Regions from separate parts of the Homo sapiens genome. Here region 1 is linked to region 2. Evidence: promoter capture Hi-C in 16 types of primary human blood cells and fetal thymus (Javierre and others, 2016). All regions are on one chromosome and are shown on one strand. Each heading gives the region's core, a stretch centred on a gene start or on the middle of the fragment in contact. The rest is flanking DNA. Distances are from core to core; before and after follow the strand shown.

What was found. Contacts are between HindIII fragments. The CHiCAGO score rates a contact against its expected background, and 5 or more counts as called.
Region 1: a contact is called between a fragment that was not itself captured here and the fragment with the promoter of CCSER1 in region 2, in 1 of 17 cell types (total B cells). The highest score is 5.1, in total B cells.

The regions. Positions count from the first base shown.
Region 1 is chr4:90,064,127-90,069,314 of GRCh38, forward strand. All of the region lies in intron 1 of LOC105377331 (a long non-coding RNA gene), which reads right to left. Among named protein-coding and RNA genes, the nearest start is that of CCSER1, 61 kb to the right of the region's middle. The HindIII fragment of the contact is 986 bases long and covers 1,227-2,212 here.
Region 2 is chr4:90,124,149-90,129,432 of GRCh38, forward strand. CCSER1 (coiled-coil serine rich protein 1) reads left to right here and starts at 3,246. Exons shown (of 11, transcript NM_001145065.2): 1 at 3,246-3,683. RefSeq lists silencers at 3,804-4,003, 4,114-4,363. The HindIII fragment of the contact is 6,776 bases long and covers 1,580-5,284 here.

The DNA.
Region 1 (5,188 bases), core at 470-2,969, 62 kb before region 2:
ATATTTATTATTAAAAAGATAAAAGAGGTAATAGCACAAACATAATGAAGGCTCTCTCAGTAGTGTGTAAATTTTGCTTAAATAAATGCCTAAGACGTGGTGTTCATAGGAGACGCTTTCCAAATTTGAAAAAAAAATAAAATTTCTATCTTTTGTCTTGAGGGGATCTGTCACATGTTTGTAGAAATACAGTGGCACTTCTGCAAGCAAACCTCCCCCACCGTCACATCTAGCCAGGTGTGAATCACAAAGCCAGCATGTGACTCCCATCACAATGGAAATAAGGAATAAATGAGGCTATTAAATGTAAAGTCTCTTAAATGAACCACGTTAACATTCTCCTCTTCAAAGACAGTCTTAGTTTTTGTAACATCCAAGCTTATTTTTATAACTCACACTTCTTTAGAATATCTCAATTTGAATATCAATATAAGATTCAAAATAATCTAGTATCTCCCTTCACCACATTTTCACAGTAAATATGAATAATGCACATGGAGCATTGAAATATTTTTGCTGCTTCATAGAATTTAGAGTATGGTCTTATACAAAAAAGTAACTTAAAAGCCTTTTTGATATAATTGTTCATATCATCAATTACTGAGGTATACACGTACACAGAGTAAGAAGCTTTTCCATATGAAGGGATTTAGAAACATGTAATACTATAAATCTATACCCTTGGAATTGAAGGAAAGTTCTAGCCCTGTGTCTGCACCTGTTTCTTTATGGGACAGAATATAAATAACTAATACTGTCAAGTTTCTGGGGGTAAAGAATAGGATTTTTCCTACATTGACACAAATAAGCTCTAAGAATATGTAGCTTTTGTATTAGCTTTTCTATTAGCCATATGTTCTGTGTCCCAGCTGTTAAGATCTCCTACAGCTGATTAATTATATTTTTTAAAAGTCAGGCAATTTACACCTGTGATACCATAGATCACTTAAGGCTAATGGACTGGAAGTCCTTGCGATATTAGGGATCCTTCAGGGTATGGGTAGGATGAGGAAGGAACATAATCTGTGCCCCATAATCTAGCACAGTTTCACTCTTTACTAATGCTTAGGGTTTAGATAAATGTCTCATTAAGAGGTAAATGTCTCATTAAGGTTATTAGGGTTATTAGGTTATTAGGGTTTAGGTAAATGTCTCATTAAGAGGAAATGCATTTGTCAGCAAGGGCTGTAGGCTCATAGGGTATGATTGCAAAAGACTTTTCTGAAAGCTTAGCTTTGGATAAATCTTCAGCTAGCCTAGGCAGAGTGCATATTCTATCCTGTGAAAACAATTGGTGAACACTGGTGAAAAAAGAGTGTATTAGCCCACAGGCCACAGAGGTGTTTAAAGAATTGAGCTTATGTACATCAATGTTCAATAGGAAGTCCAGTTTATTTCATATATAGGGTCAACAGTTAAGGAAGAAACTGGGAAAGAGGCTGTGTCATGGGACCAACAGGGAGGGTCAGTAAAAATATTGAGTAAAGAGAAAGTTTCTTTACAAGGTTTTTCTGTTTGTTTGTTTGTTTGTTTTAAAGCTAGTTGATTCAAGTAATGCAATTACCTGATTTTATAGCTCTAAGACAGTTATTTTCACTGTTTACCAAATGGATTGGGGAATTTTGAAGATAACTTAAAAGCCTGAACAAATGTTTTAGAACTTTTTCTTAGGTTTCGATACAAGAGAAGGCATTTGAAGTAACCACCAGTTTCTTCAATTTCTAAGATATCTTTTCTTCTTTTTCTCACAGTAAATGTGAGTTTTGTTTTCCCTTCCTTATAGAGTTATTAAAAGCAGTAAAAGATTATCAGTGTCCACAACTTCAGCTGTGGTCATCATTGGGAAAGCTGTCATAAACTTTACCTTAATAAAAATCAATTGCTCAATTTTCTATATCAGTGAACAAGAACACTAACCAAGAAAAATGAAATTTATGTTTAATCTATCCATTTAGATCAGATGGTATCTCAGTCATAAGGGAAGCAAAGAGCTCTGGATAAGGAATAAGGAGCTCTGGGTTTTAATTATTCTCTGCTACTTTGATACTTTTACTATAATTGGAACCCTGGAGAAACCAAGGACCAAGTCTCCTTGTCCATAAAGTTAGAGCCAAGATCATTTCTGGTTTATGAACTACAAAGTTCTTTGAACTATGAATGCTGTGAAGGCATTCTAGAGCCACCAAATGTAACCTTACTCAGCTAAGAATCAAGCTTATGTTCTAAAGCCTTTTGATTCATTTGGCAGAATATCAGTTGGACTGAATGGGAAATTACTGCATCAATTGGAAGCTTCCAGACTCTCACCATTAGTGTTCCCATTATTCATTCACTGTGTATGATAATCCTAGATCAATATCCAAATCTATGGGAGCTGGTTCTAAGAAACGCTCTCAGAGTAAATCTATTCATTTATTGATGTAACCAATTATTCAGCATGTATTCATTAATGATTATTTATATGGCACTATATTATATAGACTGTATACAAAAGAAATGCTCTAGTCTCACAGAGCTTATGTTATATTAAATGCTAGTATACCTTATAATAAGGATTTTTAGGGCCAGATATCAGAAGTCTTGGAATCATCAGGGCAGGGACCCCATTCCAAACATTACTGCCAAAGAGAAGAGAACCGCAGGCTTGACAAGGCTTGGTGGAAGGCATAGTGGCTGAAATTCACCAACAATCAAAATTGAACAATATTTCTGAAAACATATGTTCTCTGACATGACAGTGGTATGTTTATTAGGAATAATTATACCCAGGAAAAGTAATTGGAATATCATTAAATCTAGAATGATTATGTTGAGTCAAAAGAAAATAATTGGTTGTTTGAGAATTTCTGCTTTGATTTGGAGAGTAGAAACCCATAAATATACAGTATTATATTAGTTGGTTCTTTGCAAGAATCCTATGCCTGGATAGCATTAGGAGATATACGTAATGCTAAATGATGAGTTAATGGGTGCAGCACACCAGCAAGGCACATGTATACATATGTAACTAACCTGCACATTGTGCACATGTACCCTAAAACTTAAAGTATAATAATAATAAAAAAAAGACAGTGACATGGGAAAATGTAAAGACTTTTAACAGCAAACCTATAAAATAGGTCTCTGGCCCCTAAAAAAAAAAAAAGAATCCTATGCCTTTTGTTTGGCCCCTTTGTTTTTGCTTTCTCCAGCCATTTTTTCCAAGCATTCTTTTATCATTTTCTTAGACTCTGATGCCTAGAATATCCAGTACCAGAGATAAAGTTCTGGTTAATACATTCACAATAAGATGTAAAGGGATTGGTTAAACTACATTTAAAGGTGAATGTGAATTTTAAGAAATAAATGGAGAAAGATAATACATAACATAAAAGAATATCCCATTAATAGTAGACTCTCAGGAATCCAAGGAATAGCTGTTTAAGGGAGGAAAAAAATATATATAGGAGTTCCTAATTTGTTTATTAATAAGGACATCTCATTGTTAATTGTTTCCTTAATTCATGCCACAAACTTTTTTTAACTTCTAAATTCAGGGGTACAAGTGCAGGTTTGTTACACAGGTAAACTTTTGTCATGGGGATTTTTTGTACAGATTATTTCATTACCCAGGTATTAAGCCTAGGACCCATTAGTTATTTTTCCTGATCCTCTCCCTTTGCCCACCCCTCACCCTCTGAAATACCCTAGTGTGTGTTGTTCCCCTCTCTGTGTCCTTGTGTTCTCATCATTTAGCTTCCACTTATAAGTGAAAACATGCAGCATTTGGTTTTCTGTTCCTATGTTAGTTTGCTAAGGATAATGGTCTCAAGTTCCATCCATGTCCCTGCAAAGGACATGATCTCATTCTTTTTTATGGCTTCATAGTACTCCACAGTGTATATGTGCCACATTTTCTTTATCTAGTCTACATTGATGAGCATTTGGGTTGATTCCATGTCTTTGTTATTCTGAATAGTGCTGCAATGAACATACACATGGATGTGTCTTTATAGTAGAAATATTTATATTCCTTTGGGTACATAACGAGTGATGTGATTGTTGGTTCCAATGGTATTTCATTGGTCTTTGAGGAATTGCCACACTGTCTTCCACAATGGCTGGACTAATTTACACTCCCACCAACAATATATAATGTTCTTTTTTCTCTACAACCTTGTCAGCATCTGTTATTTTTTGACTTCTTCATAATGGCCATTGTCACTCGTGTTAGACAGTATCTTACTGAGGTTTTGATTTGCATTTCTCTAATTATCAGTGATATTGAGCTTTTTTCATATGATTGTTGGCTGCATGTATGTCTTCTTTTGAAAAGTGTCGGTTCATGTCCTTTGCCCACTTTTTAAGGGAGTTGTTTTTTTCTTGTAAATTTGTTTAAGTTCTGTATAGATGCTGGATATTAGACCTTTGTCAGATGTATAGTTTGCAAAAATTTTCTCCCATTCTGTAGGTTGTCTGTTCACTCAATTAATAGTTTCTTCTGCTGTGCAGAAGTTCTTTAGTTTAATTAGATTCCATTTGTCAATTTTTGCTTTTTTTTGCAGTTATTTCTGGCGTGGCACCACGCCTGGCTAATTTTGTATTTTTAGTAGAGTCGGGGTTTCTCCATGTTGGTCAGGCTGGTCTCGGACTCCTGACCTCAGGTGATCCACTTGCCTCGGCCTCCCAAAATGCTAGGATTACAGGTGTGAGCCACCATGCCCGGCGACCTGATTGTTTTATAAAGAGGAGTTCCCCTGCACAAGCTCTCTCTCTTAGCCTGCTGCCATCCACCTAAGATGTAACTTTCTCCTCCTTGCCTTCCGCCATGATTGTGAAGCCTCCCCAGCCATGTGGAACTGTAAGTCCACTAAGCCTCTTTCTTTTGTAAATTGCCCAGTCTCCGGTACGTCTTTATCAGCAGGGTGAAAATGAACTAATACAGTATGGGTCTAAAAATTGTCCACCTGTCATTTGTTTATTCATTTAGAATCTAAACCTAACCTTGATAGGGTGGTTTCAATGCAATCTTCTTGAAATAAATCACAGAAACTGTAGATCGCTGAGACCCAAGTAGCTAGAAACTTACCATCTTTTAGAGTTTTAGGATGAGGGGAAGTGAATCATATTACATAATATGTAATATGACTTACATTCTCCCAATTATAGGTATAACTCTTCCTCCTGGGAAGTAATTTAGAATCTAGAA
Region 2 (5,284 bases), core at 1,996-4,495:
ACGATAGAGTATAAAGTAAATCAAAGAAACATAAAATAGCTTGGAAAGAACAAAAGAAATGCAATTTAAAAATGTTTAATGACACTCCACCTACAAACATTGTTTTACAAATGTATTAAAGTTAATTCTCTTTCTAAAATGTCTTAGACTAGTAATAGGGTTGGGGAAAAAAATCTCCCTTTCCTTCCCTGGGCTATAATTTTACTTTTTAGGTATGACTACTGAGGAATTTCTAATTTGGCTCATCACTTCAGTGGGAATTCAGTGCACATAAGGGGCACATATGTAATTGGCAACCTAATTTTTCTGCTTTCATCAAATGGTGCAATGCCAAATCTTCATTGAACTTGCCAGTTAAATGCACTTGGGAACCAAACAGCAGCAAGCATACATGAGATTAAAATGAACAAATTGGAAAGAGTCATTAACTTTTTCTGTTTTCCTATCACAACAAAAATTGTATCATTGAAAGTGTTGCAAAGTGGGGAATTCTACTTGAAACATTAAACAATCTTAAAAGAGAATAATTCATTTACTTAACTTCTAAAATGTGGTTCATTATAATTTATAAATGGGGTTTCTAGTGCAGATTTTTTTCAACAAAAATACAAAATCATTAAAATGAATAAACTTTTCAGGAGTATGTTTTAAGTTATATGTTTCACATGTCTTTCTGGTCTAGTGCATATAAATTCTAGCCTTTATTTGGAAAGAAAAATTGTCAGAAAATTAAGCAAGAAATGTTGGCTTCCTGTAATACCGTAATGAATAAAGGCAATTGACAGCTTTTCATGGTTCTCAGTAATTATGAATGGAACTGAGAGTGTAAAAATTACTATCATTTGTGGTTACCAAAAATGCCCTTGAAATATCTGGTCTAATATATAATTTTGAAGTATGCAATATACAGTCATAATCAAATTATTGTTATTAATGACAATTAAATAGAGAACCAGGACACTGAAAACACCACAAACTTGCTGAATATGATTGAGTATCATCCCTTTAGGAGGACATAACCTTTTAAAATGTCTGTTTACGGCTCTCAAACCACCTATGTATTCACTAGATGCAAATGTTCAGTAATATCTCCTCTACAAAATTTCGTTTTACAATGACACCAGGTTTCTTTCAGAAAGGACTGTGTAGGAAAGTTTTCTTTTTCCATTTATGAGTTCAAGTATGTTAAGACTTTTTAAATTGTTGACCAGCCCTAAAAAACATTAACATTTCATAAATCGCTCTTGCATTGTAAAAAGAAGGAGGGAGGTAGAAGAAAAATGCCAAAGGATTGTAGGTCAGCTTATTTCATAAACAAAAGCTCTAAGGAAAGTCCTGAGATTTTTAAGTAAGCCAGGCCTTCTGAATGGGACATGATATGGACAGTAGAATAAGACAGATTGAGTTCCATTGACATTATTTATTCTTTGTATGATCTTAGGTTATCTACACACACTTTCAAAATTTAACTTTCTTGGTCTGTAAAATTGAGGAAATAATAATAGCTGTCCCATAGGGCACACTATCAATCCCAATATGCTTTGTTAGTCCATTCATTTTTCCAGTGCTTAATCAAAGAAGCTTTAATGGCCTATATACTTATATTATTGATATATTCACGCACCTGTCCCAACTTGCTGTCCTTTCCAATATCACTTTGTTTTTATCACACTCCTTAATATCACTTCTTTGTTAGGTCTTGATCACATGCTTAAATCATTTTTAATGTTTGCTAAACTCTGTATGAGAGATTGAAGAATTACGAGACAGGAACATCAATGTGAAAGGGTAAAATATGTGGAGAATATATAAGGTGCCAGCATATGACAAAACCCTAAAGATGTACGATGGTCACAAGCCATGGAAGAAGATAGGACAACTGAATTGTCAACCTTGCCGCCTCCTCCGTAGCCTCCTAAATCTTATCTTCCTTTTGTCTAATTTATGAAAAATGTTTCCTATAATTGTCTCCCAAAAGCAGAGTTGTCCCCATGCTGTAATATACATTGACCACTCAGATTCATTTAAAAAATACATCTTGCTTTTATTCCCAATATAACCACATTTCAGAAGTTAGATCATAGCCAGTTAGATTACACAGAGCGTGCGCACGCGCACGCGCACACACAAACACACCTTGAAAAAACTGTAGATCACTTGATTTCTGGAAGTTTTTCTCAATACCTCAGTGCACCTGATCACAACATCTTGTAATCTGGGCAGAAGGTAAGGGAGGTGATGTTAGGCGTACAAACTTAATATTGGGGATGCATTTTCTACCTAGAAATGGTCCTACATTCTACCAGAATGGGTTAAAAACAGATGCGCGCGCGCACACACACACACACACACACACAGAATTAAATGCACTACATTTGCTGTATTGCCTGCTAAAGGCATAAATATACTGGAGTGGAGATAAAGAAGGGGATGGATGGGAAAGAGTTCAGTACTTAGTGTAAACCTGAAAGGAAATGAGGCAGTGCAAGGGGAGAGAGGATCAGGGGAAAATAAATTATGTAGGCAACAGAACCATGCATCAAAAGTCTTTTCGATTTCTAAACTGGCAAATTTTCTCCAGGGGACCATCAGTCAAATGATGTCAAATTGAGCTGATTCTCTTGTAATGCCTGTATTGTGTAGGGCCTTCCTTGTAGGAACACAAGTTCCACTCTCGGACACAGTCGCAGTGCTTGCATTATCTTACAGAATTGATTGCTGCAAATGGTTCCTGGGAGGTGTGACCTGCTTAAAGGAAAGAAGCTAGGTTTCTTTTCTTGTTACTGAGGAATGAAGACACTTGTCAGGATGTGAATTGTGTGGGTGAGAAGGAAAAGCGGCGAAAGAATCTGGTAATTCCTTCCCTTACAGGAGGAAGAGAAAAAAGATAACATCGGAACCTTGGAGAGGAGAAATACAGTGCATTTATTTCCAGCATCCCCGCAGTCACTTCACGTCTCTTCAGACTTCCCCTATTCTTTAGTCTTGACCTGCCTATGCACTTGAACTCCACATAAGCACTAGGATGGACTGGGGGAAAAGGCCAGGTCAGCACGGTGGGATACTGCTTCCCCTAAAATGAAAACTCAGCAGCGGGCCAGCAGTGGGTGTGCGCGCGTCGATGCCAGAGGATGCGTGCGTGGAATCCGGCGGACGCAGTGGGCCGGGCACCGCCCTCCAAGCCGCCCCGCCCAGCCCACCACACTCCTCCTTGTATAAAGGCCGCGCTTGGGCCCGCCCTCCTCACAGCCCCGGAGCGCGGCCTGCCGGGGAGGTGGATCTCGCGCTCCCCACACAGTCACACTCCGCGCACTCACACACTTGGAAGCGCCTCCCCACGTCCCTCCCCTGCCCTCCTCTTGCTCTGCTCTTCTCTCCCTCACCACAAATAGTCGCCGACCTACTGCCAATCCGCCTCTCCTCTCTCTCTCTCTCTGTCTCAACATGACTGACTGGGAAGCGGTGGCTCGGGCAGAGCAGCTCCGCTGGCGCAGGCAGGAGGAGCAGGAGGATTATTAAATAACGCAGCTGGACTCTGTGCAACTGGGAGTGGAGAGGAGCCCAACAGCCGAGAAGGGGAGGGAGGGCAGAGGAGGGGGACCAGGAAGGACACCCCCGTGCCCCGAAGACATAAATCCCTGAGTGCCCGGGAGGAGCCTTAACAAGCGCACGGAGCCCTCAAGGTAGTAACGCCCCTGGTGCCTCAGCGCTCAGCGGGTCGCGCGTCGCGTCGCCGCTTTGCGGGGCCGGCCGCAGGCGGACGCGGGGATGACCGCTCGGCAGGTGACCGCGCCGTGTCGGGGCCGCCTGCGAGCAGCGCGCGCCCAGGCCCGGCGTGCTCGGCGCAGAGACCTGGCCTTGCGGGCGGGGTGGGAAGGAGGCGGGCGGGCTCGCTCACCACCGGCCCGCGACTCCCAGTGCGCCGCGTGGCCATTTCCTCCACGCTGCTGCGTGGTTTGCTGCCTGCGGCCGCGGCGGCCGCTCCAGGGCGATGCGGAGCGCTGGCCAAGGCGGCGAGAGTTGGCGCAGGCTTCGGGTCGCTCCCCTTCCTCGCCACTCGCGTCCCGCAGGTAGAGGCGACCGGTCAGCGCTGGCGCCCCGGGCTGCGGGTGCTGAGGCGGGGACGGCGGCGAAGAGGGGGAAGGGGAGGAGGGGGCGGGGAGCCAGGGGCTCCCGGAGGAACCGCAGTGCGGGGCCGGGACCACCTCTTGCCTCCGCCTGCTTGTCCTCTGGCGCCAGTTTCCTGGATTGGAAGCAAGACCCTGCCCAGAGGCAGCAGTAACGGCAGCGACTTAGATTGAACCACTTGCTTTGTGGTGGAGCGTCAAGGGCCCCAGGTTGTGTGCGTGTGTGTGTGTGTGTGTGTGTGCGCGCGCGCGCGCGCTCTGGACTAACCAGTGGGTTGGTTCACCTGAGCAGAAAGTCAGCCGTAAGCTGAAACCGCATGTGGCCCCCTGGCCCCTTCGACTTTTGGCTTGTGTCCCAGGGACTCGTACACACGGTGCCAGCAAGGGGTAAGGGTGACGGAGGGATTTGTGAATGGTGCTTCTGCGTGCGTGGAGGCTGAGCCTTGCTGATGTAAAGGAGGAGGTATCCAGAGTGAGAAGAAAGGCTATTTATGGCAAAGAGTTGTGAAATTTCTTGGGGTTTCCTTTTAGTGTATCCTGAACTGCTCTCTTTCTCTCTCTCTCTCTCTCCTCTCCCTGCCTCAGAATTAGAAGCAATTATGCTTCCCCTTCCTCTCGTGGGACATGGAATATGAAATGAAGTAAAAAAAAAACTCATATTTTTACAGGTAGAAAAAAATACTTCTTAGAAGTTACAGATTCTTTGCCCTTTAATGTTTTTATGTCCTCTTCTCCACCCCTCTTACCTTTTCAGGCAGTCAGTAGGACTTACAAGTCAGAAAATACCTACTTGGTTTCAACAGCTTTCATTTCTGAAATCTTTACAGTTGAATACCTTCCTATTGAAATGTAACACACATCCTCCCTTCTCTGCCCCTCAAGGACTATTAAAAATAATGTGTACACGTTTAAAGTAAAGCTGGTTTTATTAACAGCCTTAGGGAAAACGGATAAGAGGACACCTAGGTGGGGGTCAGTTATCACTGGTTCCTTCAAAACTGGTTATTAAGGGAAGACCTAAAATACTGGTAATCTAGGCTATAATATAATTTGTCTTGGTTTCTCTTTCTGTTTGCTTTATAACAGGTACATGTTCCAGATACGTAACTTGAAACTTAAAGATGCCTTGGGACAGTGCCTGTCACGGTGCTTATAAA